Regions from separate parts of the Homo sapiens genome. Here regions 2, 3, 4, 5, 6 and 7 are each linked to region 1. Evidence: promoter capture Hi-C in 16 types of primary human blood cells and fetal thymus (Javierre and others, 2016). All regions are on one chromosome and are shown on one strand. The core of a region is centred on a gene start or on the middle of the fragment in contact, and the rest is flanking DNA. Distances in the headings are between cores, read along the strand shown.

Evidence for each region. Contacts are between HindIII fragments. The CHiCAGO score rates a contact against its expected background, and 5 or more counts as called.
Region 2: a fragment that was not itself captured here is called in contact with the fragment with the promoter of DCAF16 in region 1 in 10 of 17 cell types (total B cells, total CD4 T cells, naive B cells and 7 more); the score reaches 30.6 in total B cells.
Region 3: a contact is called between a fragment that was not itself captured here and the fragment with the promoter of DCAF16 in region 1, in 1 of 17 cell types (total B cells). The highest score is 6.3, in total B cells.
Region 4: a fragment that was not itself captured here is called in contact with the fragment with the promoter of DCAF16 in region 1 in 1 of 17 cell types (non-activated CD4 T cells); the score reaches 5.9 in non-activated CD4 T cells.
Region 5: a fragment that was not itself captured here is called in contact with the fragment with the promoter of DCAF16 in region 1 in 1 of 17 cell types (neutrophils); the score reaches 6.0 in neutrophils.
Region 6: a contact is called between a fragment that was not itself captured here and the fragment with the promoter of DCAF16 in region 1, in 1 of 17 cell types (neutrophils). The highest score is 5.4, in neutrophils.
Region 7: a fragment that was not itself captured here is called in contact with the fragment with the promoter of DCAF16 in region 1 in 2 of 17 cell types (fetal thymus and naive CD8 T cells); the score reaches 8.1 in fetal thymus.

What each region holds. Positions count from the first base shown.
Region 1 is chr4:17,808,800-17,812,855 of GRCh38, reverse strand. It overlaps DCAF16 (DDB1 and CUL4 associated factor 16), which reads left to right and starts at 2,099. Exons shown (of 3, transcript NM_017741.4): 1 at 2,099-2,409. NCAPG (non-SMC condensin I complex subunit G) reads right to left here and starts at 1,877. Exons shown (of 21, transcript NM_022346.5): 1 at 1,668-1,877; 2 at 432-635. The coding sequence starts at 1,778. RefSeq lists enhancers at 1,406-1,918, 2,192-2,351, 1,919-2,430, 2,472-2,561. The HindIII fragment of the contact is 3,530 bases long and covers 841-4,056 here.
Region 2 is chr4:20,701,272-20,705,327 of GRCh38, reverse strand. PACRGL (parkin coregulated like) reads right to left here. Exons shown (of 9, transcript NM_001258345.3): 2 at 795-862; 3 at 514-668. The coding sequence starts at 846. Among named protein-coding and RNA genes, the nearest start is that of PACRGL, 2.8 kb to the right of the region's middle. The HindIII fragment of the contact is 483 bases long and covers 1,891-2,373 here.
Region 3 is chr4:20,683,198-20,687,253 of GRCh38, reverse strand. No RefSeq gene overlaps it. Among named protein-coding and RNA genes, the nearest start is that of PACRGL, 15 kb to the left of the region's middle. The HindIII fragment of the contact is 8,962 bases long and covers 1-4,056 here.
Region 4 is chr4:14,993,440-14,997,495 of GRCh38, reverse strand. CPEB2-DT (CPEB2 divergent transcript) reads left to right here. Exons shown (of 8, transcript NR_038857.1): 4 at 2,146-2,242. Among named protein-coding and RNA genes, the nearest start is that of CPEB2-DT, 6.6 kb to the left of the region's middle. The HindIII fragment of the contact is 924 bases long and covers 1,602-2,525 here.
Region 5 is chr4:15,014,568-15,018,623 of GRCh38, reverse strand. It overlaps CPEB2 (cytoplasmic polyadenylation element binding protein 2), which reads right to left. Exons shown (of 12, transcript NM_001177382.2): 4 at 1,346-1,436. It overlaps C1QTNF7-AS1 (C1QTNF7 antisense RNA 1), which reads left to right. Exons shown (of 6, transcript NR_125911.1): 3 at 743-822. Among named protein-coding and RNA genes, the nearest start is that of CPEB2, 14 kb to the right of the region's middle. The HindIII fragment of the contact is 757 bases long and covers 1,652-2,408 here.
Region 6 is chr4:15,640,070-15,644,125 of GRCh38, reverse strand. It overlaps FBXL5 (F-box and leucine rich repeat protein 5), which reads left to right. Exons shown (of 11, transcript NM_012161.4): 3 at 3,243-3,338. It also overlaps a transcript of FAM200B not described here. Among named protein-coding and RNA genes, the nearest start is that of FBXL5, 13 kb to the left of the region's middle. The HindIII fragment of the contact is 2,309 bases long and covers 769-3,077 here.
Region 7 is chr4:15,754,250-15,758,305 of GRCh38, reverse strand. LOC107986186 (a long non-coding RNA gene) reads left to right here and starts at 1,880. Exons shown (of 2, transcript XR_001741393.2): 1 at 1,880-1,982; 2 at 3,765-4,056. It also overlaps a transcript of BST1 not described here. The HindIII fragment of the contact is 1,312 bases long and covers 1,098-2,409 here.

The sequences.
Region 1 (4,056 bases), core at 850-3,349:
TATCTGAACTCTATACATTCGGAATGCAAGAAGTTACAACAACAATTCATTTCCTGAAGAGAACCTATAATGCTACCTTGGTCCATATGTATAGCAAATATATATATTTTATACAGTCTCAAAATGAACAGTCTGAAAGAAGTCTTTGCTAAGTTACATAGTCCTCTTTGTAGAGGCTTCTAAAATACAGAACTCATTTAAAATAAACAAAGGAGAACTGGTTTAAAGAGGTCATTAAAAATTTAATGCTGGAGTTAAAGTCCACTTTTTAATCATAATGATAATTCTAATATTTCCTATGAAAGGTAGACTCATTCAGGTTTTTTCAATCACTAGATATTTCATTGTCAAAAACATACAAACTCCCACGACTCTTTTAAAGTGGCAAAATTTTCTAAAATCCCTCCCCAAAGCTATCATTTTCATAGTACCTTTAAGAGAAAAGTAAACAAATAATTTAAAAGGCCACCATCTTCCTCTTCCTCATCATCTTCCATATCTGATTGGTGAAATGAGGTAACAAACTTTGCTGCAAATTCTATTACCCTCTCCACAGCTGGTTCACGTTTATAGACCACCATAACATATTTAAGGTAATGAATGAACTCCTCATGAAAAACTGTCTTATCATCCATCTGAAAGACAAAAGAAACCCTTCATAAACTGCACCGATAAAAATCCTTTATTCCCAACATCACCCTAAGACTGATGAAAGCACTAGCCATAATAATGCAGACAAATTAAAATATTTATTTAGTAAACTCTTAATTATCCAAACCAGCCAAAGGGCAATCAATTTGCATGAATTTCTCTCCAGGCTATAATGGGAGTACACAAGCTTGACTTTTGACAGTGAAAAGATTCCTTTGATATATTTTTTTCAATATCTTTGATTCTCAATAAGCCTTTAGTACCAGTACGTTACAAATACGCTTCTTCAACAACCCAAAATCAATACTGGCTTTTATATTTCTCATATTCAGGCCTTCCTATCACCAGCAGTTTCTTTATGAGATAACTTGCACATCCTATCTCATATCCTCAAAGCCCTGTGATGTTTACTCACAATTTTTCTTGGACCTCAAGATAATTCATCTTCCCCAAATTAATTGTTCTATTCTTCTCAAGGTTCCACTCAAAACAAACAAATAGTATGTACATAAATAAGAATGGCCAGGCCCTAAAAATAATTTGGTATTTGGTGATTGGATTCAACGTAACCGTAGGACAAGGGTAGAATCATTTGATGTTCGGCGGGGAGCGATGACCCCAGGGGCAACGACCACTGAACCCCCGCATTCAGGATCCACTCTGCGGTTCAATATTTGATGTCTGATCGCCTCGGTGGTCGTAAATGTTTCTCTCCACGTTCACGATCGGACTAAGGAATAACGGTCCACGCCGCCCAGAAGCTGGGGGTGTCGGCTCAGAAAAGCCAAGGCGGGGCCCGTGTGAACGACGCCCAGGCTTCGGAGGCTTTCTGGCCTGGGCCCAGGCGACCTCGGGTAAGTCCCTGACTTCTCCGAACCTCAGATCCCTATGAAGTGAGTCGCGAAGGTGAACAAGGCTGGAGTCACGGTGCGCCGAGCCCGAGGGCCACGGAGGGCCCCTGAGGGAGGGTGGGCCGGGGCGGGCGAGAGGCGGCGGCCGGGGCCGGGAGCGCTTACCGTGCGGTAGGTGCGGCTCAGCGCCACCACCAGCTTCGCCTGGTTCTGGTGCGGCTGCTGCGCCAGCCGAAAGGCCTCCTTAATCGACAGCAGCCTCCTTTCCGCTCCCATGGCTCTGGAACCCTGCCGGGACGAGTCCTGCCCGCGCTCGGCTACAGCCTGCCAGCCCGCCAACCCAGAGGCAGCGCTCTCCGAGTAGTCTTCTATGACAGCCCCAGGGAGTATTTACCGCTCGAACGTTCAAATAATTCCCGCGAGAGGGGGAAATCCCGCGAGACTGCCGTAAGCGCTTTGGGAGAAGAGAGCGGGAAGCGATGGGTCCACCCACCTCGCACCCCGCGCTTTGGGCGCATGCGTCTAGGTTCAACCTTGTCCAGCCGTTTTCACGGAGGGAAGTGGCGTTTCTAAGGGGGAGGGGCCTTGACTCGGCCGGAAGTAGCGTCGGCGCGGGAGCTGAGCGGAGTGGCCTTGCCACCGGAGGGGAAGGGCTGCTGGCGTTAGGCCTGGCTGGGTCGTGCGGCTGAGCGTGAGGCTAGAAAGAAAAAGCGATCCTCCAAGAGTGAGAACGGGAGATCTGCCGAGGATAACAACCTCCCTTGTGGCCGAAGGGCGGGGGATCCCCACACGAGGGCTCCGCTTCGAGAGACGGCGACAAAGGAAAGTTCGTAGCGCGTTCCGGAGGCCCGGCCACCTCTGAGAAGGGAGACGACGCTGCTGGGTCCGCTGAGCGGGGCGACCCGAGGTTAGTGGAGACGGATGCTGTCTTTTGAAGGCCTTAGTCCCTGCCCTGGTGAAGCCGACTGCGAGGTTCCACAGGGCGTGCAGGCAGTCCGGGGATCGTTGCGAAGGGGGGTGCGGGCTAACTTAGCTGCTGCCGTTTCTAGATGTGCAGCTGTGTAGGCCCTGTTTACAAGTGTGCATAAGGACAGTGTATTAAGGGAGAACTCAAGAGAATGGAAAGGTCTTTCGGGTAGTGGTTAAAATAAAGAAGAGTAGGAACTAGGTTTTTAAATTTTAAATGAAATTATATCAGACAGAACTTCTGTTGGATCTCAGGATGCACCATCCAAAAATAGGACTGTAGGAGACCAAAATATGCCACCCTACAATATACTTCTAGAGTATATTTTGAGCTGGTATTCTGATAAAATGCAGACACAGGAGTCGCTCTGAAAATCTGTCCTGTTGTAAAAGAAATTGACATCTACAGAGGAAATATACATCAGTAAAGGATCTGTATCAGAAAGAGGGCAGCTCTGCGATAATTTTTGTTACCTGGGAGATCTTATCTGCATACCAAGACAACTTTTATTCACCGTATATTTCCTCCCCTCACCTTTCCACAACTTTGTGGCCACCATCCCCCAGAAAGCCGCAAGCCCCCATTTCTTGAGTAGCGTAGGATGCTGTATAATATTCAATCATCTGACCATGGTGGGACTCCTCTGCGTATGTAATTAAGTACGGGTTTTTTTTCTTGTTAATGTCTATGTCAGGTTAATTTGTAACCCAGCCAAAGAACCTAGGAGGATGGAGGGAAGCCGTTTTTCCCTCTCCTACACCTCAGTAACCTACTGCCAGCTGAAGAAATAGAACATTACTAAAGCCACCTGTACATCTTTCTCCTTTTGAATTACCTGCCCTCCGAAGAAGTAATGGATTTTCTGAATTTACTGTTAACTTTTACCATGCAGCTTTCTATATCTTAATGACATATTTTAATATATTAATGACATGAATAAATCCCTGAATGAGGATATTGTACTATTTTGCATGTTTTAACCGTTAAATGAATAATTATATGTGCATCTGGCTTTTTTCAATCAATATTGCTGTGGTTCATATTGATATGTTCATAATAGTAACTTGCACTTAATTAACCTTTATTATGTGCCAGACACCATGCTAAGCACTTTACTTCGTTTACTGCTCACAAACCCTGTAGGATAACTTTGATCTTCTTTTAAGATGAGGAAACTACGGCACAGACAGGTTGCTATAGTACTCCATTGTATTAATATGCCATACCTTATCCATTCTCCTGCTTAATTCCTCAAACTTTGTAGATATTCAGCTGCTAGTTAAGAATGTGGTAACATTTGTGTTGCCCATAATTTTGCTTTGTGACGTTTCTAATATATATTTTTTTATTTTTATTTTGAGACAGAGTCTTGCTCTGTCGCCCAGGCTGGAGTGCAATGGCGCGATCTCGGCTCACTGCAACCTCTGCCTCCCGGGTTGAAGCGATTCTCCCGCCTCAGTCTCCCAAGTAGCTGGGTTACAGGCATGCACCACCACACCTGGCTAATCTTTTGTATTCTTAATAGAGACGGGGTTTCGCCATGTTGGCCAGGCTGGTCTCGAACTCCTGACCTCAGGTGATCCACCC
Region 2 (4,056 bases), core at 883-3,382, 2.9 Mb before region 1:
GTGTTGTTGCACAGGTGTGTTCACTTCTGAATATTTTTACTGCATAAATCCCATGTTTATTAAATCTCATTAAATTGTTAGGAGAGGGCAAAGGAGGTTAGTACTACAACTAGGATTTCTGGTGGAACTAATTTACAGAACACAGGAAAGGTCAGAGACCTTTATGCAACTATAGAAGCACGAAAAGCATTCTGTGGCAACTGAATACAGTTTATTCATTGATATGGGGAAGTAAAACAACACTGCAAATAAAATCTAAAGCTAAAGTGCAATTTTCTATGCACTACAATGCGATATCCCAAACAGGTTAACTTCTATGTCTCCTTACCTCCATACTCACTCCCACATGTGACTGATTATCTCAGTTCTTCATCATAATAACCACATGCCCTTCTCTCATTATTAGCTCAAAACTAGCAAAGGGACAAAACTCAACACAGCATCCAGCATTGTTCAATACTGTGCGAAATGCCTTTAAAAAATCTACTGAGTTAGGAATAGTTTTGGACCTACCGGATTAATTGTTTTAGGGTTCAGTTTATCACTTGGTCTAGGATGAAGTTTTCTTGCAGACTCTGGAGAACTGGTTGACAATGAGGATTTGCTTCCCTGAACTGCATTCCTGTGTTTTAACTGTGTGCTTGATGATGTCCTTTGATCATAGTTACCTGGAAAAAAACAGAACATCAATAGAAACCAGGTACAAGCAATAAAGTTCACCCTGCATCCATCTGTAGCACAGAAAGTGCCATGAACAAACTTGACCTCTTCACTTAAAAACAAAAGCTCTGTACCTGTTGCTCTGTTTTTCAACTGTGTACCTCCAGAGCCCTCTGATTTCTGCATTGCTTCCCTTTCACTCCTGCAGTTTAAAAAAAAAAAAGTTGATTTCAAAATTTGTTTGGAGGGGCATTTGTTATCAATAAAAAGACAAAACCAGAACAGAGTATACAATACAGTAAAAGACACACAAAAAAGTTGATATGGAGCAAAATACTGGAAAAGACTAATGAGAAAACATGAAATTATGTCAACTTCAATAGTATCAATAACAGCAAAATAATCATCTCCAAGAAATGATGTACAAAAGTCAACTTTTTTTCCATTCAAATTGTCAAAATAAACTGTTAGAAACTCACTTCCAATTCTCTGACCACATTAGAAAACACAGACTAGATTTCTGAAAGGAGTGGTTGGTACATTCCCTGTCATCTTCTCCATCTTCTCTGGCCTCTGTATTTCCAAAGCTCCAAATGTTAACATGTGCACATCAAGCTCTACTTTTCCAGTGACATAATGAACTCTCCTACCCAATGTATCACAAGCTCCTTAAACTGAATGTAACTAAAACTGAGGTTGTCACACTGAAGTTATTATGAACCCCTTGTTAACCCAGGGTACCACCAGTTTTCTGGTCCTCAGACTGAAAAACTTAGAATCACCATTGTCTCCTTTTCCTTCATTTCCTACACTCAATGCTACACGTGATGAGAAAGAAAGAGCTTTGGGCTCAAATATGGGTCTGCATCTCAGTTCTACCAATTATGAAATTTATGAATTTAGGCAGATTATTTAACCTCCCTAAACCTCGACTTCCTGACCTGTTTAAAGAGGGAAATAAAAGCCTGTCAAGGTTTTCTGGAGGTGCAAATGAAATTATCTCTCAAGTTACTCACCCAGGGAATACTGGTTCACTTTTCCCTTACACAGTTGCTTTTTTTCTGCTAATGGAGGACTCTAGTTCATACCCCAAGGTTTCCAGCTAATCCAATCAATTTCTACAATTGTATCTCTAGCAAGAAATACACACACACAAACACACACACACACACACACACACACACACACACTCATATACCCAAGTGCCTACTGGTATTTTTAGGCCAAGCTTCATTCCCAACTTCCATGAAGCCTTTCCTCATCTTGGTTTCTCAAATGTGTATTTCTATGGCATTGATTTCTATCCTGTGTCCTTATTTCTACTTGATTACTCTGTTCCCTCACTTCCACGACAATCTAGTTATTCTATTAGCACACGTCTCATTTTAATGCCTTTAATAATGACTGCCTCTCAAGTATAGTGTAAGATCTTCCCTTAGGACAACACAGGTAAAGTCCTCTTCCACCTCCAAATGACACTTTTTCAAATATTTGATGGCATTAACTCTTAACTCCTTCATTTTTTCTTCTTCAGGATAAACACTGATACTTTTTAAAATGATTCCTCACATGAAATGCTTTTAATCCACTTAACAAGTTAGAAATCCTCAAAAGGAGGACAAAGCTCCATGTTATAAAATTTAGCCAGATATCTCAAACATGATGTACCAGCTTAAAGTCTGATACCATGTAAAGATAACCTAAATGTAAGCTTGCTTCTGCACACTGAATAATTTCAATTTCCTTGATTTAGTACATTGATCTCATTTATCTCATCCCACTACCAGCAGATGACTTACTTCCCAGTATCACACTTCACCTCCATTCCCAGGGCCATTTTCTAATACTACGGTAATTAAAATCTCATTAAAGTTGTCAGATAATAGTCTAAAATAAGCTGAGAGAAGCTTTAAATATGTTAACCTACTATTGTACTTCTGTGATCATTCAACAAGTATTTAATATTGTGCCTGACTTCTGTTTTGAGAAGCTCCTGGAGGGGGAACAACACAAGTTTCTATTGAAAAAAAAAATGCATCAGTTTCCTCAACTCTATAATTGGGCATAATTACAGGAACTACTTTAAGTGTTGATGAAGACTAGTAAGAATATATGTAAAACAACATTTCCATAATGGGAGGCATGCAGTAAGGGCCACATGAGTCTTAGCTATTATTATAATTTTCTTTACAATGGTACAAAGTGTTCTTCAGTATTACTATTACTAATAGTGAAACCACATGTTTTGTCATTTTTAAAAAATCTGGCTTAACATCTTGGGCTACATCAATTTGAAGACCAGCTGAGGTCCAATTTCTCTTGATCATCAATTGTTAACAGCTGCAACAGATAAAAGCGATGCACAGCAAAGACGCGTACCCACAAACATAACAAGGGCACAGGCAGCCATATCAAATTATGATGCACATTTTTCAATACTACCTACCAATTCAGTGGAAGTTTTGGATGGAATTTTATGGCTAAATTTCTATCTTCCTTCACGTCAAAAAGTTGTTCCTGTAACAAACTAATGGGGAGGTGTTGCATTATATTTTGAATGAGTTCAAAAAGTCACCAAAACTCATTTGAAAAAGTTTTAAACATGGTAGAAAATCGAGCTTCTACAGTTTATGAGTATACAGGACAACTTTTATGTACAATATATAATTTTCAGCATTAAACATACAGTAATGCAAACACGTCTACATCCCCTTTCAAAATCCTGTATTAGAGAATTTCCTTCCAAAACAATTGCTTTTTCACTTAAAATTTTTATCCTTTACCTTAACGACAAATTACAGTTGGCTCTCCGTATATGCGGGTTCCACATCTATAGATTTGACCCAACCACGGATACGGAGAGCAGACTGGAGGACTTTGGCATGGGTGGATTTGGGTATCTGAAAGAGACTGGGGGGAGGGAGGGAGTCCTGGAGCCAATTCTCCACGGACACCAAGGGACGACGGGAAATGTAGTCAATTTTTTAAAATAATATCCACCTGGAAGCATGCCACTGACAAGCCTGGAGCATGAGTTGTTTGTGAAAGCAAGCTTTAAAAATCTTATCCTTGGTAACCCTTTCAAGTGGTTTTTCATTAAATAACATGTAGAGGATGGTGTAAAGGGGCAGTGATGGGGAGAAGCGAACCTGTAAGAACTATTTTGTGTTACAAATATTATCAAGGTCACCGCTCATTCTTTTACAAAACAAGATAAACATTCTAATTATAGATATTAGAATCCATAAATCCACTTAACTTCGAACACCTAAACTATGTCACAATATCAGAAAGCAAACAAACCACCCTATGAAGCCCACACATTCCCCTTAAAGCTTCCTTGGTTGCTACAGGTCATCTATCTACAAGGGACTGCCGGTATCTGTGTCAATGGTA
Region 3 (4,056 bases), core at 405-2,904, 2.9 Mb before region 1:
TAAAGCTAAACTAGGTGGTGACTTCAGTCACAGCTACTGTACCAGGTGTGGTTTCATTGCTTGGGAAAATTAACACATTCCCTGGTACCTGGTATGCAACTATTGATCTGGCAAATGCTTTTATGCTCAATACCCATTTGTGAAGACTAGGTGAAGCAGTTTGCTTTCATCTGACAAAGCCAGCAACACACCTTTACTGTCCCACTTCAGGGGTGTATCAGCTCTCCTGCCATACATCATAATTTAATTGATGGAGAGTCAGATAGTCTTTTCCTTCCATAACGAGTTACACTGGTTATTTGCACTGATGATATTATGATGATTGGACCTAATGAGCAAGAAGTAACAACTACTCTATATTTATTGAGAAGACATTTACATGTCAGAATGTGGAAAATAAATCTGACCAGAATTGAAGTACCTCCACCGCAGTCAAATTTCTAGGGATCCAGTGGTGTAGGGCATGTTGAGATAGGTGAAGACACATTGCATCTGTCCTCTCTTACAACCAAAAAAAGAGATACAACACCTAGTAGGCCTCTTTGGATGTTGGAGAAAACATACTTGACACTTGGGTGCGTTATCATAGCCCATTTACCGAGAGACCCTAAAAGCTACTAGTTTTGAGTGGGGCCCAGAGCAAGAGAAGGCTCTACAACAGCTCCAGACTGCTGTCCAAGCTGCTGTACCACTTGGGTCATATGATCAAGTACCTCTGATGGTGTTTGAAGTGTCAGTGGTAAAGAGAGGTGCTGTTTAGAACCTCTGACATAAAGCAATCATTTTATTCAGGTGAATGATAAAGCACATTTTGAAACTTTTCAAAAATTCTCCCAAATCTTTCATTTCACACTTTGTACATTTCACCTGGTGTGATGGTTAATTTTATGTGTCAACTTGGCTGGGCCATGGTGCCTAGATACTTGGTTAATCATTATTCTGGATGTTTTTGTGAGGCTGCTTTGGTGTGGGACTTACATTTACATCAGTAGACTTTGAGTAAAGCAGATTGCCCTCCATAAGGTGGGTAATCTTCACCCAGTCAGTTGAAGGCTGAATAGAACAAACGAATGACCTTCCCTGAAGCAAGAGAGAAATCTGCTGCTGACAGCGTTCAGACTTGAACTGCAGCATTGGCTCTGAGGCTCTGCTCTGCAAATTTTGGACATGGCACCCTCCATAAACACGAGCCAATTTCTTAAATATCTCTCTCATACACACACACACATACACACACACACACCCACACACACACACACAATTGGTTCTGTTTCTCTAGAGAATAGTACACTTGATTTCTCCGTATTTGGGGTAAATTCTAGTTGTCCAGTAGGGCAGCCTTGAATAGCAATATCAAAACTCTGTAAAAAGGTTAATCTGTGTTCCCAAACTCTAACTTTCAATGCTAGAATCTCTAAAATACTTGTTTTCTGCTAAGAGGCATTGGCTGACTTTGGTCTTTGGCCCCCACGTTGGTTTAAAGAAAGAGATTAGTGCTGGGAATAAGATAGCTCCAAACAGCACAATGAAGGTAAATTAACGAGTTGGCTCCTTCAGTGATATCTATAATTTTCTGATTAAGGTCTAAGCTAGGGTAAAACCTTCCTCATTAGCTGTCTTCCCTGGGAAGATAACCCAATACTTGTCAATTCTTGCTTTCATTTTTTGCTCCACATGAACTACCTTACCTGTCTTATTGTTGAGATGTGAGTAATGGAGTTAAAATAAACTTAATTTTAATGTGTTTATTATCTGTTCAGATTCTTATTCAAAAATTTAAAAGAATTAAGACCTTTAAAATGTGCAAATATGCTCCAATATTTATTTTTCCACTATTTTAGAAGAAAAAGATCCAAAAACTTTGGTTGAATTTTAAGTTTTTAGCCACTAGATGGCAGTGGATAACTATCTCTTATTTTGCTTTCCCGCATTCAACTCTCAGCTAATGTTTTCTATTGTCAGCTGGCAAATAGAAAAGAGGAAATATATAAAGGCTATTTACTGGAGATGTTGAACAAGATAGAGATTTTATTAATGGAGTGTTGAACACATTTTGTAATTCAACTGCTAGCAAAATTATTTTCTTTATTGTTATATATTTGTACGATTAAAAGGAGAAAATAGGATCAGCATTGAAACGTACAAAAACATGGTCAGGCTAAATGCAATCAGCATTGACTGGAAATGCTTATCTTGACCAAATGCTAAGCAGAGGAGAATGACTACAGCCTAATACATCTGCTGAGCTGCTTTGAAACGTTTTTGACCACATGTAAGAGACCCTCTGCATTTTCATGACACCCACACCCAGGAGCACTACTAGAAGGGCTTGTGGATGTCAAGAGAGGTTGTTTCTGCTGGAGTCTTTTACCTCAAACTAAAGAAAAAGGAATCCCTCGAAGAAAATGTGCTTGGAGACTCAGGATTTAAACTTTATCACTGGTTGTCTCTTTGTATTATATTTAACATTAGATTTTCCCAACCTATGTAGAACATTCAGTGTGTGGTCTATGATGGTCTTTTGGGGATGGACTGACTGCAAAGTAGAGCTATGGCTAGGAATCATGTCCATGGGTAATATTATGCAGCCATTTAAAAAATATATTTACAGAGGCAAAAGTCTGAGCTTAGAATTCTTAGGATCTTTAATACATGGAGAAAATCTGGGGAATAATAATAACGAAGCAATTCAAAGAACAGTGTAGGCATTTCTCCCTAAAAACCTAGAGAAGGAAGTATGAAAAACCACTAATGTTGACCAAAGTATTCATAGGCCTTAAAAACATTTATTTTAAGCAACAAGGGAAGAAAATATTACTGTTTAATAGAGTGCCACTTCAGAAGGAAAGGGGCAAAATACTTGGTTAACAGCACATGACTTGTACTAGCATCCGTATTCTTGGAGATAGGCTAAGGAAGGCCACCATTAACAGCCAAAGTTAGTGTCATAGCCCTAGTCACAGCAGCCTCCACCCCCTTCACCTTCTGCAGGAGCAGAAGGCAGGAATCCATGCTCGGGCTATCTAAGGAGCCAAACCTTCAAAGTGTGTTGGGAGACTAAAATCCCCCAGCCTATACCCTTATCTTATTCTTATTTATGAACAAGCATCCCTTAGCCTTCTTTATCTTCAGTGTGTTGCACTCATGTTCCCCCATCACATAACAAGGAGGAAAATAAGTGAATACATATTGGATGCTATTTTCCGGATGCCAAGTCTCTCTCCAGGTAGTAATGAGGAAGGAGTTTTATAGAACATTTAGCAATAGCACCCTGGGAGTCTGAAAGAGTTAATTTCTCTCTTTATACAATTTCTACCAAAGGATTCCTTCTGGGAGGAAATCTATTTAATTTTGTTCATAAAAGAGATAAAGCTGGGGACTAAAGTGGGGTAGGAGGAGACGTGCATCGCTAATATCTTTAAAAACAGAGAAGAATAGGATTCAAAAGACCTCAAGAAATTAAAAAAAAAAACCTTTTTAAAATAGTGATATGCACCAGATGGCACACACAGGAATCGATATTCTAAGTCCTTTAGGGACAAGGTTTAATTCTTTTAGGTCTCATGTAGCATCTGATGCAGAGCTCTGCACTTAGTGGGCACCTAGTTAATATTTATTAAAATCAGATTGAATGTCGAACAAGTACACACACACACACATACACACACACACACACATACACACACTAGCAATCAGAATTACCCAAGCTGAAAAAGTCACTAATGCTACAAGCATTATATCAAAGGTATCATTTCACTCATTCACTTAATACACATTTTGTGATAAGATAAATAATATCCCCCACACCATGAAGGAGTTCACGGTGTGGGGAATGATTCTCCTGAAGCACTTTCATGCACAGAGCAAAATGACCCAGACATTCTCCCAATCAGGGTGGGGTAGGCTTGAAGGGCCTCCTATATAAAAGAGTAGCCTCCCAGCACTGGTTATGAAGCTCTGTTTCTCAGTCTCAACCCTCCCTTTCACACTCTACTTTGTAATGCTGGTCCTGGGTCTCTGTAGACAGCATTTCCCCTATGCTGCTGACTCCCTAAT
Region 4 (4,056 bases), core at 814-3,313, 2.8 Mb after region 1:
AAGTTGGGTTAGCAGGTATGAGAACAACAATTATCTTCTTGTACATCTCCATCAGAACTCTTGGGTGACCAGGTATATAGTCAATGAGCAGTAATATTTTGAAAGCAATCTTCTTTTCTAAGCAGTAGATCTCAACAGTGGACTTAAAATGTTCAGTAAACTATGCTCTTTCCAAGTTTTGTGGTTCCATTTACCAAGCACAGGCAGAGTAGACTTAGCATGATTCTTAAGGGCCCTAGGATTTTCAGAATGATTAATGAGCATTGGCTTCAAGTTAAGGTCACCAGCTACATTAGCCCTTAAGAAAAGAGTCTGTCTTTTGAAGCTTGAAGCTAGGCATTGACTTTTCCAGCTATGAAAGTCCTAGATGATACCTTCTTCCAATAGAAGGCTGTTTTTTCTACGTGAAAACTTATTTAGTGTAGCCACCTTCATCAGTTATCTTAGCTAGATTTCTAGATAACTTGCTGCAGCTTCTCCATAAGCACTTTCTGCTTTACCTTGCACTTTTATGTTACGAAGACAGCTTCTTTCCTTAAACACGAACCGACCTCTGCGAGCTTTGAACTTTTTTCTTCTGCAGCTTCCTCACCTCTCTCAGCCTTCACAGAATTGAAGAGAGTTAGGGCCTTGCTCTGGAGTAGGCTTCAGCTTAAGGGAATGTTGTGGCTGGTTTAATTTTCTCTATCCAGACCATTCACACTTTTTCTATATCAGCAATAAAGCTGTTTCACTTTCTTATCACTCGTGTTCACTGGAATAGTACTTTTAATTTCCTTCAAGAACTTTTCCTTTGCATTCAGAACTTGACTAACTACTTGGTGCAAGAGGCCTAGCTTTCAACCTATTTCAGCTTTCCACATACCTTCCTCACTAAGCCTAATTATTTCTAGCTTTTCATTTAAAGTGAGAGACATGTACCTCTTCCTTTCACTTGAATACTTAGAGGTCGTTAGAGTGTTATTAATTGGCCTAATTTCAATATTGTTTTGTCTCAGGGAATAGGGAAGCCCAAAGCCTTTATTGATTAAATTATTGTCTTATATGGTTGTGGTTTGTGATGTCCCAAAACAGTTACACTAGTAACATTAAATATTATGATCACAGATCCCCAAAATAGATATAATAATAATGACAAAGCTTTAAGTAACGCAAGAATTACCAAAATGTAACACAGAGATACAAATTGAGCCATGCTGTTGGGAAAATTGTGCTGATAGACTTGCTTGATGCAGGGTTGCCACCAACCTTCAATTTGTGAAAAACCCATTATCTGAGAAGCACAATATAGCAGAGCACAATAAAGCGAGGAGTGCCTATATATCCAGAATCCAAGCACTTCACCCCATTCTCACCACAAGCAGCCTGGACCAGGCTACATCGTTGCTCTCACCTACTAACTCGTATTCCAGCTTCTGATCTTGCCCCTCTCCAGTCTGTTCCCAACATAGCAGCCAGGATGATACTTCTGAAGTGGAAGACAGGTCATGTCAACTCCTCTGACTAAATACTTACATTTTCTCAGAATAGAAGTCAAAACATTTTAATAACCAAAAGGTTCTTCAGAATCGCTCCTGCCACCACTAACCCCTCTGAAAGCTTCCCTACAGTGGAATGCTTATTTCTGTAACAGCCCAGGCCAATTCAGCCTTAGGGCCTTTGCCCTCGCAATTCCCACACCTGGAATACTTGTCTCCTAAGTAGCAACAGGGCTCACTTAATCATGTTTTTATCATTTTTTTTCATGTCTCTCTCACGTCTCTGCTAAAAGTCATTTTTCAGTGATGTCTTCCCTGACCACCATTGTAATAAAATGACAACCCCCCGCCGCCACTCTTTCCCAGCCTTCTTATTCCTCATAAGGTGTTTGTGTTTCCATCTGACCCACTATGTACTTGAACTGTTTATCTGTCCTCTCTCTGAGATCACAAGCCCATGAGGAAAGGTCCATGCCTGTTTTGCTCACTGTTGTATCCTCAGCACTTACAACGATGCCTTGCACATAGTAGGCTTTCAAGAGTTGGGAATTGCATGCACTTATTAAAGGGGTTGTTGAATTAATAAATAGCAATTTTAGGAAATGATAGCTAAAAGAATACAATAGTAATACAAGGGTCTGTTTATAAATGGTTAATTTGTTTTCAGGAGCTGTCCAAACACCATGCAGATGCTCCTAGGATTCTTAAACTAGCCAAAAATAATTCCAGGCATTGTCAGATATAGGATAAGTACATGAAGACAGGTAAGTCATCCCAAGACTATAACGCTGGGGAATAGATAACCCTGGAGTACAAGGGGGAAAACTTCTGTCTCAGGAGACTAGAGTTGGGACTCCAGGAACACAGGGGTTCATTACAGGAGCTTGAACAAAGAGAGGAGTCAAGACCCCATCTCATAGAAATGGAACCAGTTCAGGAGGCACTGCAGTTAAGGTCAACTGGATGCCTTACTTCCATGCTGCTGGTTTCTTTCTGTGGCAGAGCCCATGCCCATAAATGTAATTAACCCCACAGAATGGGAAAGCTTTGAGTCTTTAGATGGGAGCTAATTAGCTCTGGTTTGGAGTTGGAAAAGGAGAAAGTAGAAATTAAGATTCATTCTGACCTTGACCAACTTCAAGGTGCTTTATTGATGTGGCACTCAAGAGTAGTACCATCCTCAATTACTTCTAGTTCTCCTACTTTTCTAAACCTTCCTTCATAATTTCCTCCTTCACTTTCTCCTTACATATTCTTTACGTGTGAGAGTTCCTTAGGCTTATGTTTCTGGTCCTTTTCTATATTTCTACCTACTTTTTCTAGATGAATTTATTATCATGTTTTCAAACATCATCTAAATGCTAATGTCTTCCAAATCCATCTCTTTAGCCTCATGGTCAAAATCATATTTCCAACTGCCTGTTTAACAGTTTGACCTGGGTGTCCTTCAGCCACATCAATTCAATGTGTCTATACCTGCATTCAACATCTTCCCCAAAATCTGCTTCTCCTATTTTGCTTCTTGTCTTGGCTGACGTCATCATCACACAACCAGTTTCTCAAGCTGAAACATGAGTCATCCTCTTCCTTCATCTCTCTCACCCTCCAAAAACAATTGTCAACCATGCTCTGTCAATTATACTGCAGAAACGTTACTCAAATGTAATTCCTTCATGTATCTCCGCATTCCCTTGCCTTTCACATTCCTGGAACACAAGTGCCCAATAAGTATTTGTTGATTAGTAATTGCCCAATGAATGCTGTAAGAAGAAAAGATGAAGAAAAGGAGAAAACAAGGTAAGGAAAGGAAGGAGGGAGATGGAAGGAAGGAAAGAGGTAGATGTTTCCAAAGCATGCTTTACAAAGACATGAGCCATTTTGTGGATAACTGTAGCATTGTTACCTTATGTTTACTGGAGAAAAAATAAAATGAATAATCATAATAACAATGACAAAAAAGTTATTTTCCTTCCCAATATTTTTTCCTTGACAATACCAAACTAAAAGTTTCACTCTGGTTATTACGATCTCTATTCTGGTTATTATGCCATACAAAGATGAACTCATTGACAAAGAAAAATATCAAGAATCTTCCCCTGATGACAAAGTGTAGCCCCGAAACATAATAGAAGGTCTGTGTTACCCTTTGTGGCATCCAGGGGATTTATCATCCCACTCCAATACCCCCACCTAGGAGAGAACCTGTCAGCCTCTCCAGTAATTTCTGCCACGATGCTCACTGGGCCCTTACGTAGACTGACTGACTTCTCTATTGCTACTTATCTTGTATCTTTAAGGCCATGTGAACTCGATTGAATTACAAGTCTTTGTAGGCAGTTGCTATGCCTTATATGTTCTTTAATTTTCCTAGTTCTTATTGATTGATTTATGTATTCAGAAACTCTCTGTTGAGTGCCTGCTCTGTACCAGACACTGTGCAAGGCACTATGGGTATAACTGTGAAAAGAACAGAAAATATATCCATTATTCTGTACATCCTCACAGAGGCTGTAAATAAATACTGTTGACATTAGTTATGATAATTCCCAACCCTAATTATCTGGGCAGAGTCATAAAC
Region 5 (4,056 bases), core at 781-3,280, 2.8 Mb after region 1:
GCTGCTGGCTTCTATTCTAAATGGTGGATCTAAGACAAACCACTGAAACTGCCAGCATAACAGTGAAAAAGACCAAGACCCTATACAAAGATACTCAAAAAACTAAGCTGAACTTTGGTTAAAAGGAAAAAAAAAAAAGAAACTCAAACAAACATCCCCAAAAACCTGACATACAACTATAAGTTTGTATGAGGAATTACTATTAGCACACATAATCAACAATCACTAATATCCCCTCAGCTTCTCAAGCTCCTTAAAATTAAGGAATTAAAAAGACAAGGAATTCTTTTTACAAGAAAAATCCATAAACAGAAAAAAATAGTTAGATATGTGGTCAGTATTATCAACTTAGCCCCACATCACCACCTCCCTGCCAATAAGGAAGTTTATAGTTTTTAGGCCAAATCTTGAAAGAGAATTCTAACTTGGCTTTATAGAATTAAAAATGGCGAAAATTTACAAAGTAATCCATGATTTTGATTCAATGAGAGATTTTGAGCCAGAATAAAATAGTTAAGCTGCTCCTGAATTTCTGACTCACAGAAACTGTTTAAGGTAATAAATATTTATTGCTGTTTTTAAGCTGCTAAGTTTTGAGATAATTTATTATGTAGCAATAGATAAATAGTAACTGTCATGACTCAAATAGACAATTTGGTAGATTTTCACCACTGATATAAATGACAATGTGATATATTGTATAAAAATATATAATAATTGCTTTTTTTCATTTTATACACAGAATATGTACAGACAAAAACAAGTATGCTAATGAAATTTCTTCAAATACTACAAACAATTAGTGAAGACTGCTACTATAGGGTAAGTGGGCCGGTTCTTTTCCCTAATTTGTCTCAACTTCTATGAAAAGCTATTTTTCACCTCAGAGAAGCTACTATAAAATACTCCCCCCCCTTTCAAAACCCTATGACAGTAGAAGAAAAATAGAGAAAGGAGGTTAACTAGGGATAATTCTAGGCTGGAATCACTGCAAATTGTGAATACAAGTATTCCAAGAAATATTTTTAGTATTTTTGTACTTGAAAGAATTCTAGAAAAGTGACTAGTGTATACTTTTAGATCCATCCTTCATTCTCTGGTGAACTGAAGCATGTCTCTAAATAGTAAATTTTCCTTAAATTGTAAGTCAAGGGAGGTGAGTTCACATTAAGCAACAAAGGAAAAATATGGCATTTCATAAAAACAAAGATTCTCATTAATAAATGTGTAAGAGAGTTTTATATTGGATATAGGTGCTACTTAGGTTTCACTTTCATATAAAAACTAGTAAGATAAGCAAATTGGTGTATAATATAAACATATATTTTTTTAAAAAGTCACCTACCCTTAAGAGGATCATGCTCTGCTCTCATAATATCGATAAGGGAATTTTCCAAAGAGTGCATATTCAAACTGTCATACATTCTACTTCGATCCTGGAAGAGAAGAGGAAAAAAGACATTATAATCTATGCAGTTTTTTCAAAAAGCGATTATAAAACACTATCTAAATTCTCTTACATAAAATAGGACTTCTGATTATTACTAATTAATCTGTATCCCACAAAAATACCAATAACTAAAGATCTCATGAACTACAATGTTCCTTGCATTGGAGGACATTATTTTCAGTATATTTATCTCTTAAAGCTTTTATCAAAAGTAATCTAATTTTACTGGCAATACTAATGCAAAACAGTAAAATAATTTCTATAGTTACTTTTCTCTATAAAGTTTCCTGAAATCTTATACACACAGAAAGCATTTTTTGGTTAATTTCAAAACTTTTCTCACATATTTAGGAAGACAGATAGTGGCACATAGAAAATAAATATTTGGGAGGAAATATTTTAGTTCCATAATTGCACCATACTTTAAACATCTATCAAACATTTTGTTATCTGACATAGTAGTCTGAATTTAATAATGAGTGCATAAACATCTTATACGGTAAAAATCAAAAGCATAAGATACTAATAACCAGAACAGGGACTAATGCCTAGAATATTCAGATTCATATATTACTCTCTAAAGTGCTTCCATATTTGTCTCTGCATTTTTAAGCCGGCCTCCCCCAACTCCCCTGCAAAATAGGCAGGTGGAGGAGAGAAGAGTAAAAGCACAGTAATCTCATTAAGTCTGCTACTTCACCAAGTCTCCAAAGTCTTGTTATCAGAATCTTCTTTGCTGAATGTTCAATCCCTTCACTTGCTTATTTGAAAGAATCTGACTCTTTAATGTCCATAAATTTCTACTGTATTCTGTTCAATACATACTCAGTGTACCTGAAAAAAGGTATGTGGTGAACTACTAGAGGAAGCTCTGGCCCATGCCCTCCAAATAATCTAGGAGTCTTCCCAAAATACTCACCCACCCAGTTACATATGTGTATACACGCATGTGTAAGCTTATGTATACGTGGGGGATACAGGATAGTCCATTCTAAACTCTCAAAAAATGACTGTCACAGAAAATGGAAAGGAAGAATCTGAAAATTAAGTGGAAATAAAAGCCCCCATAGAAATCAAAATAAGGCACTTATTAACCTGGGTCCATTAGCTTCAAGAGAGACCAGAAGTCTCTGAGATTATATGTAATATACTGTTCATAGGTGTACAGTAGTCCCCCCTTTCTGCATTTTGCCTTCCACGATTTCAGTTATCTGTAGGACAATACAATAAGATATTCTGAGAGACAGAGATGCCACATTTACATAATTTTTATTACATTGTTATAATTGTCCTACTTTACTATTATTGTTGTTAATCACTTACTGTGCCTAATTTATGAATTAAACCTTATCATATGTCTTCATTGGAAAAAAACAGCATATGAAGGCACTATTTGCAGTTTCAGCCATCCACTGATTGTCTTGGAACGTATCACTCATGGATAAGGGGGGACTAGTGTGTACATAATTTCTTTTTTTCCCGAAGAAAAGGTTTATAGCTTTCATCAGTTTTCCACAGGAGTCCACAATCCAGAGAAGATTCAGAATCAGTTCTTTAGAAAGCTGAAGAAAAACCTAAAAAGCTTTTCTAAGAATATGTTCATTTATTTACTTTACTTTGATGTTTAAATTAGGGTTGTAGCCTTTTTAAAGCTAGGGGTTCAGAATCAGTACTGTAGACTAAGTTGCTGTCAGGGATTTAAAAAGGTAAAAAGTAACACTGAATGACGGAAGGAATGCTAGACTGGAGGCTCTTATTCCAGCTTTATCACCAATTAACTCTATCAGTACTCTTTACTGATTTTTACTGAAAGGCCCCTGAGGTAAAACACATGCATCAATAACAGCTGCTCTCTAGAACAGTGACCTTGATTAGTGATGGAGGCACAAAGAATCAATGAGCTGTAACAGTGGTTCCTAAACTTGAACATGCTTCAGAATCATCTGGAAGGCTGGTTAAACACACAGACTGCTGAAACACATCAAATTCAGTAGGTCTGGAGTGGAACCTGAGAGTATGTATTTCTAACAAGTTCCCAGGTGATACTGATTCTGCTGGTCTGGATATCACACTTTATAAGAAGCAATTAGTTTCTTCGTCTGAAGTCACTAAATCTCTCTAGGCTCTGGTTCTAACTCCTAGAAAATAATCATGTCAGACTAGATGATGCCTATAGTCTCTTTAAAAATTCTAGAAAAGAAAAAGACTCAAAATACTCTAAAATAAATGAAATATTAATAAAACTGAAACAGAGAATAGGATGGCCCATATGGGCAAAAATGACATATTAATTTTAGGAATCTATCCAGATATTTCCATCTTCCCTGTGCTTCCACTATACTGTGTTCATAACTAATTTGTTGATTTTCCTGTCTGTCCCACTAAACTTCTAAGTTGATTAAGAATAGGGACTATCTAATTACAGAATATAGTTAGTTCTCATGTCTGTTGAATGAATACTTCTTTATCTCTACCATAAAAACTCAATAAAAAATGTAAAAAAAAAGTCGAGTTCTGTAAGGAGAAAGACTGTACTTTTTAAATAGTAATGGTAAAGGACTATAAAACTTTCTCAGAATCCTCAACGGAACAGGTAGTCAAATGTT
Region 6 (4,056 bases), core at 674-3,173, 2.2 Mb after region 1:
AGTTTGATTAGATGTAGATGCAGATCAGATACTAAGGCTGAGAGATTTTTCACTAAACCAATTCAGCAGGATTTTTGCTGAAACTGGACTAAGCCGAACAAGAACAGAGTATAAGGTCAGGCCTAAGTTGAGAAGAGGGCCCAGAGGAGCCTGACTCAGGTTTGGTGAGAGTCTTCATCAGTTACCTCTTTATTACTGTTTAATAAAATTTTATAATGAATGCTACTCACCAAGTCTGAAAGCTGTTTTTGTAAGTCGAAGTTTTAATTATAAAATTTTTACATTCTGTTAACATTTGCTGAATTCTTAAAGGAAAGCTATCCAGTTAATGGTGACCAAAGGTATAATTATTACTTAGAATGAATAAACACTTTAATTTTATAAATTTTTACTTGTTTTAGAATTGAATACCAGCCAGGTGCAGTGTGCAGTGGCTCACATCTGTAGTCCCAGCACTCTGGGAGGCCGAGGCTAGTGGATCACTTGAGGTCAGGAGTTCTAGACCAGCCTGGCCAACATAGTGAAAACCTGTCTTTACTAAAAATATAAAAATTTAGCCAGACATAGTGGCAGGCGCCTGTAATCCCAGCTGAGGCAGGAGAGTTGCTTGAACCTGGGAGGCGGAGGTTGCAGTGAGCTAAAGATATTACTGGGTATAGTTTAGGATAATGATGTAGAGAGACTTTCTTCTTAATTACATTTACATATTATAGGATTTTGAAATTTGATCTTAGTTTATTTCCCTTCTGGCTTGGTGAAGCGTAAGCTTAAGTTACAACTCTGTTAAGCCACCATGTGCTCCTCACCTGGAGATTTATGTTCTGGAAAGGCTGTTCTACAGCTTAGGGAGGATGGATTAAAGATAAAGAAAAGACTAAAGGAGGAAGACCATTATTAAAAAATTATTCTAATAGTTTCTGGAAGAATACTTAGTAGCTACTTGGTGGGGAGGTGTGGGAGGTTTGGTTGGGGTAGGGTACTAGATAGTAATATTAATAGAAGGGAGATTTACTTTTTTATTGAATATTCTTTCGTATTCTTTGAATTTTGTATCATATTATGTATTGCCACATGAATACACCTTCGACAAATCTGAACTAAAGTCATGACTAGTAGAAATAAAGGGGAGGGGATCAGACTTGAGAATTATGTAGGAAATAAAATTGATAGAATGTAGTGATTATACTTAAAGGGAGGATGAAAGAAGAGAAAAGAAATAAAAATGAGGATTCAGCCTGACTTTCTAGAGTATATAGAAGAGGGTCAGGAAATAAAAAAGATTCATTCTTGACAGATTAGGTTTGAACTGCTTGTGTAATCCAGATGGGCATTTATGAATAGGAGGTGGTAAAGATGGATTTCATGGTCAGAAGAGTGACCCAGTATGAAAAAGCAAATTTGATAGTTATTATTAGCATATAAGTAGGAATGGAAGCCATGTGGATATGCTTAGGGAAAATGTGTAAAGTCGTAAGAGAACAGGACATTAGACTGAATATTGGGAAGCAGTTGAATAAATTAGTTCTGGAAAAAGAGACCAGAGAAGACTTAACAGAGATAAAATATTTTCATATTTTAAAAGTTTTCATAGGCTGGGCATGGTGGCTCATCCGTGTAATTCTAGCATTTTGGGAGGCTGAGGCGGGCAGATCACTTGAGGTCAGGAGTTCGAGACCAGCCTGGCCAATGTGGTGAAACCCCATCTCTACTAAAAATACCAAAAAAATTAGCTGGGAGTTGTGATGGGCACCTGTAGTCCCAGCTACTCAGGAGACTGAGGTGGGAGAATCGCATGAACCTGAGGTTGCAGTGAGCTAAGATTGCACCACTGCATTCCAGCCTGGGCAACAGAGCAAGGCTTGTCTTAAAAAAAAAAAAAAAAGTTTTCATTATTTTATAAATTTTCCACATGCTTTGAGAGGGCTGATATAGAAGTGGGGAAATGTGATTTTAGGTTATGAGGAAGAAGTTTATAGCTCCTTAGAATTGCCCAGAATTAGAATGAGTTACTTCAAGATATAGTGAGCACCTTGCCTTTAGAAGTGTTGATATTGATATATATGACCTTACATCAAATAATTTTTTCTTTTTTTTTTTTAAGACAGAGTCTTGCTCTGTCACCCATGCTGAGGTGCAGTGGTGCAATCTCGGCTCACCGCAACCTCCTTCTTCCAGGTTCAAGCAGTTCTCCGTGCCTCAGCCTCTCGAGTAGCTGGGATTACAGGTGCCCATCATTACACCTGGCTGATTTTTGTATTTTTAGTAGAGACAGGGTTTCGCCGCGTTGGGCTGGCTGGTCTTGAACTCCTGACCTCAGGTGATCCGCCTGCCTCTGCGTCCCAAAGTGGTGGGATTACAGGCATGAGCCACCGTGCCTGGCAGGATAATGTTAACAGGTACAGTTGACCCTTGAACAACATGGGGATTAGGGTTGCCAACACCCTGTGCTGTTGAAAATCCACGTATAACTTTTGAATCTCTCAAAACTTTACTTACAGCCTACTACTGTTGACTGGAAGCCTTACCAATAACATAAAACAATCGAATAACAATTATTTCATGTATTATATGTAAAATATATATACTGGATTCTTACAGTAAGGTAAGCTAGAGAAAAGAATGTTACTAAGAACATCATACGGAAGAAAAAAATCTATTCACTATTTATTAAGTGGAAGTGGATCATCATAAATGTCTTTATCCTCATTGTCTTCACATTGAGTAGGCTGAGGAGGAAGAAGAGGTGGGGTTGGTCTTGCTGTTGCAGGGGTGGGAGAGGCAGAAGAAAATCGGTAATTAAGTGAACCCGCACAGTTCAAACCTGTGTTGTTCAAGGGTCAACTATATTCTGAGTTTTTTAGTGGAGGAGACACTAGATGACCATAAAGGGATTCTGTAATGATACAGTCCATTAGGCTTGGAGATACATTAAGAGAACTGACATGTAGAAATTATATAAATGTATATAATTTATATATACATCAATAAAAGCTGTGGGCAGATACGTGCTATTTTTAGACTTTTTATGATATTTTAAAAATATGGGGTTACATACATTACTAAAGTAATTCAAAGCTTACTGTTTTATGGGTATCTTTTATGTTAAAAGTACAGAGACCACTTTGCAATTTGTCTATTTTTTTTTCCCCGGAGGTTTTATGTCACATTTTAAACTTCCTGGGACCAGACATAATTAATGAAGCGAAACTTTTATAAAAATGTATTTTTTTTTTGGTTTCCAGAATGAATATGAACAGTTAAATTATGCAAAACAACTGAAAGAGAGATTGGAGGCTTTTACAAGAGATTTTCTTCCTCACATGAAAGAGGAAGAGGAGGTAAGCATAATTTTTCTTTCGTGATTTAGATTTATAACATTCTTAAAATACTATTTTGCTTTAGAGACTCTTCAAAATAATGCATAGGAAGATGTATCTGGTTGATGGAGAGAAGAACGCAGTTCTTTTTGGGAAAAAAGAAAACCCAAGGGAAAAAAAAAACGTTTGTTTTGTTTTCTCAGAAAGGTTGTTGCTTTTCATTGAATAGATGATTTAATTAATTTACTCAGGAAATATTAATTTTCTTTTTTGTAAATGGCTCTGTCTTAAATATTAATAACTTATGCTACCCTAATGTCTTTTCAGAACCTTTAGAGGATTCTTTAAACTTTTAAATATTTTTTTGTTTTCATGCTATGTTTAAAGATTTTTTCATGTTTTTTTTTTTTTTTTTCAGTAGTGTAGTTTAGTATTTAAATGGTGGCTTTAAATGTATTAGTCTTGGCTGGGCATGGTGGTTCACGTCTATAATCCCAGCACTTGGGAAGCTGAGGCAGGACAGAGGATTGCTTGAACTCACGAGTTCAAGACCAGCCTGGGAAAAATAGCAAGACCTCATGTCTGCTAAAAATTAAAAAAATCAGCTGGGCATGGTGGCATGTGCCTGTCATCTCAGCTACTTGGGAGCTTGAGGTGAGAGGATTGCTTGAGCCCAAGAGGTTGAGACTGCAGTGAGCCATGATTGCGCCATGGCACTTCAGCCTGGGTGACAGAGCAA
Region 7 (4,056 bases), core at 504-3,003, 2.1 Mb after region 1:
AGACAGGGCGGAAGGGGAGGGACGGCTGAAAAACCAGCTGTCAGGTACTATGCTCACTACCTGGGTGATAAGATCATTAGTATACCAAACCCCAGTGACACACAATTTGCCTGTGTAACAAACCTGCCCATGTACCCCCTGAAACTAAAATAAAAGTTGAAAAAAAATGCTAAATATTTGAGATGATGGATATGTTAACTAGCTTAATTTAATTATCCTACATTGTATTTATAAATTATAACATCACGTTGTATCCAGAAATATACACAATTATAAATTGTCAATTTACAATAAAAATTGTTATTAAAAATGCTGATGTTATTGGGTTTTTAAAACATTAGACATTTAATGTTTAAGAAAATCCCACCGGGCGCGGTGGCTCATGCCTGTAATCCCAGCACTTTGGGAGGCCGAGGAGGGCGGATCACCTGAGGTCGGGAGTTCAAGACCAGCCTGATCAACATGGAGAAACCCTGTCTCTACTAAAAATACAAAAATTAGCTAGGTGTGGTGGCGCATGCCTGTAGTCCAAGTTACTTGGGAGGTTGAGGCAGGAGAATCACTCGAACCCAGGAGATGGAGGTTGCAGAGAGCCGAGATCCTGCCATTGCACTCCAGCCTGGGCAACAAGAGCAAAACTCTTTCTCTAAATAAATAAATAAATAAATAAAATTTTTAAAAGAAATTCCCTATAAAGGATTCTCTGTAATATTAATGGAAAGAAATGGTGAAGAGGGAGTGAAGTTGAGGAGAAGTTTTCTTTAACAGGGGACCACTGTTCAGAACAGTCTGCGGGGCGGGGTGGGGGTGTGCTTTTGTCCTCTTTATAGACAGGAGGATCATTATTCTGTTCAGCCAAGGTCACAGGACTAGGACAGTGGAGCTGGTATTTGACCTTGGGCCCAAAAAAATACACTGCAGTTCGTGCAGGGAGAACCAAATGGTCTACCTCCACCCTCCTGGGTTCTTTGGCATGGCTGTGAATTAAATCAGCACACAACAGATTAGCAAGAAAAAAAGCTATGTTTAACTACACACGTTGGCACAGGGGTCCCGCGAAAATATGAGAGTTGAAGAAAGACCAGATGATTGAAGCTTATATAGCAGCCTGAGCTACAGAAAGGAATAGGAGGAGCTTGGGGCTTCTGAGGGTGGTAGAGACAAGCTATGAGAAGGGGAGGGAGGAAATATAAGGTGAATAAAAGTTTGTCTTGTTATGCAAATAAAGTATCTCAGGTAATAAAAATTGTCTAGGAACAGCCCTCTTCCTGATACAGATGGTTTTACTAATATAGATTTCTTTTACAAGAAACTTAACTTTCAATTTACAATAGGCATACATTTCTTTTACAAAGGGCAGCTTTTCAGAGATACTCCTGCGTCTGCAGTGTATCTGAATAACCAGCTTGAAATATGCCAGGAAGTGTATTTTGGGGTGGCACATCTTGTCTCCCACAGTATGTTTTGAGGTGGTGCATCCTGAGCCCCAACAAATGAGCATCTTGGAAAGAGATATGGCTGGCCATTGCACAGCCAGTGCACAGAAAAATGTGAATAGCACTCCAAACCTCACCCTCCGAGGCCGCTAGGGGGAAAAACAGCTCTCCACAGCGCAACATACCTGCTAGATGTTACAATAACCCAAGTCTATGATGATGACCTGAGTCATTCATAGAAGATATACCCATTAAGGACATCATCTTCATAAAACTAGTTATATGCAACACGTCCTATGTCAAAATGTTTCTCAACATGTGTTAACCTATCAAACACACTCTCAACTAATCTCCACCCAGGTCAGGAAAATGTGGTTGAGTGTCACTTCCTGAGTCTGGCTGGTACTGCAAATATAAATTCAACGTTTTTTCAAACACATCTCACCCCCAGACCTGCCATTGGCATGCACATCTTTAACCACAAACCACGATTGAAAATGAGAAAGAAAACTCTCCTCTAGCTGGGCGCTTCATAGGACTAGCCAGGTACGACCATCTCTGAGGGTCTTTGACAGCTCAGTTTTACTGCATAATCTGTTTTCAAGACCCTTTAAAAGACCAGATTGTCTAGTACTTTTCTTTTATGAGAAGAGCTTCCCCCAACCCACCCTGCAGTCTTTTAGCAAAAACACCAGAAAGTCGGTTTTTCCCCCTTGTTTTGTTGTTGTTTTTGTTGTTCATGGTGGTGTGTTTTGTTTGTTTCAGTTTTATTTTTTCAAATTCCATGGTTATTTTCAAAATGAAGATCTAGCTTACAGTGTAATTTTTAAGTTTATGTTTATGTTGCAGAGACTGGGAGAACTGTTTAGTCACCACCTTGAGAACCTTAACATCATCTATCAGTTTACATGGTACTTGCCCTGTGGAGGAACTCAGAGCTCTCAGATTGTTTTACCTTTATTCCCTGGAAGCTTTGGACTATTGGAATATAAGCTGGAATAAGAAACTCATTGATTTGAAATTGGAGTGAAGTGATTATCTGTCTAATAACCCAATGGTTAAGTTTTTTTTTTCAAATAGGGTTTTCAGAGTACACAAATGAGCACACACTCACACACTCACAGATGCATAAACACTCTAAGACCTTCATCACTGGTGGTAACCACCACTCTACATTGACTGAAGGTGACATCTGGACTCAGCATTTCTTTTTTCTTTGGGGCTTTTCACCCATAAATAATATGCAGTTGTTCAATTCATTGCTAAACTACAGAGATCCAGTGAAGAATGAATACATTAATATTGCAAATGCATTTACTCTTTGACTCACTGACCCCATTTCTAGGAATTCAACCTACAAATATCTCTGCCCACATGAAAGATAATAAATATACCAGATTAGTCATTGCAGCATTGTTTATAAGAGAAACTGGCGCCAGGCACGGTGGCTCATGCCTGTAATCCCAGAACTTTGGGAGGCCAAGGCGGGCGGATCAAGAGGTCAGGAGTTCAAGACCAGCCAGACAAACATGGTGAAACCCCATCTCTACTAAAAATACAAAAATTAGCCAGGCGTGGTGGTGCACACCTGTAATCCCAGCTACTGAAGAGGCCGAGGCAGGAGAATCACTTGAACCTGGGAGGCGGAGGTTGCAGTGAGCTGAGATTGCACTACTGCACTCCAGCCTGGGCGACAGAGTGAGACTCCATCTCAAAAAAATAAAAAAATAAAAAAAAGAGAAACTGATTGCAAACAACCTAAATGATGTTCCTAACGGGGTGGGTTAAATAAATTACAAAACATCTCTCCCATGGAATATTATGCAGCTGTAAAAAATAAAGTGAGGGATCTCTGTATGTATTGATACAGAATAATCTCCAGGATGTACTATTAAGGAGTACAAAGTATTTTGTGTTTAATGCTTCCTTTTGTGTAAGAAAAGGTAGGGAGTAATAACATGTATTTGTATGTGCTTGTGCAAAGAAACCCTAGACAGATCTACATGAACTTTAAACAAGTGGTCATCCGAATTAGAGGTGTGGGACCAGAACAGGGGACAGGAGTGGGAATGAGATTTTTTCATAGTGTTTTATTTTTAAGCCATGTGTATATACTACCTTTTCAGAAATAACATAAAAATCACCAAATGTAAACTAAAACAAATCTACGTACTTAAATTACAAAAATGGACCGCTGGGAAAGAGCCCGTTTTTTCCATCTTTTCAGGCATGCTTATCAAATACTTCATCAGTTGGAAATTCAACAAAATAAAGTATGTGTGCAGCTACATCTGACGTTGATTCTTTATCTCATTCAAAACCACACAGTGCTGACAGCAACATCCTTCCTCTCAGCATTCATGCTTCTGCTACCACCCAGGGGCACTGAGTTCACAGCCAGCTCACAGAAGGTAAGAAACTGCACACAACCCTTAGAGAGGAGACAATCTTAGACATGTGCATGCTTCAGAGAACATCTGGAAATTCTGCAATGTTCCTGAACTCAACATACCCCTGTTTCCTTGGGTTCTTTTAGGCCAGTTTTCACAATGGGGTCACACTAATCCTCACAACCTCTACTTTAGCGACTCATGAAGCCTCTATTGTTCTGCAGAACACC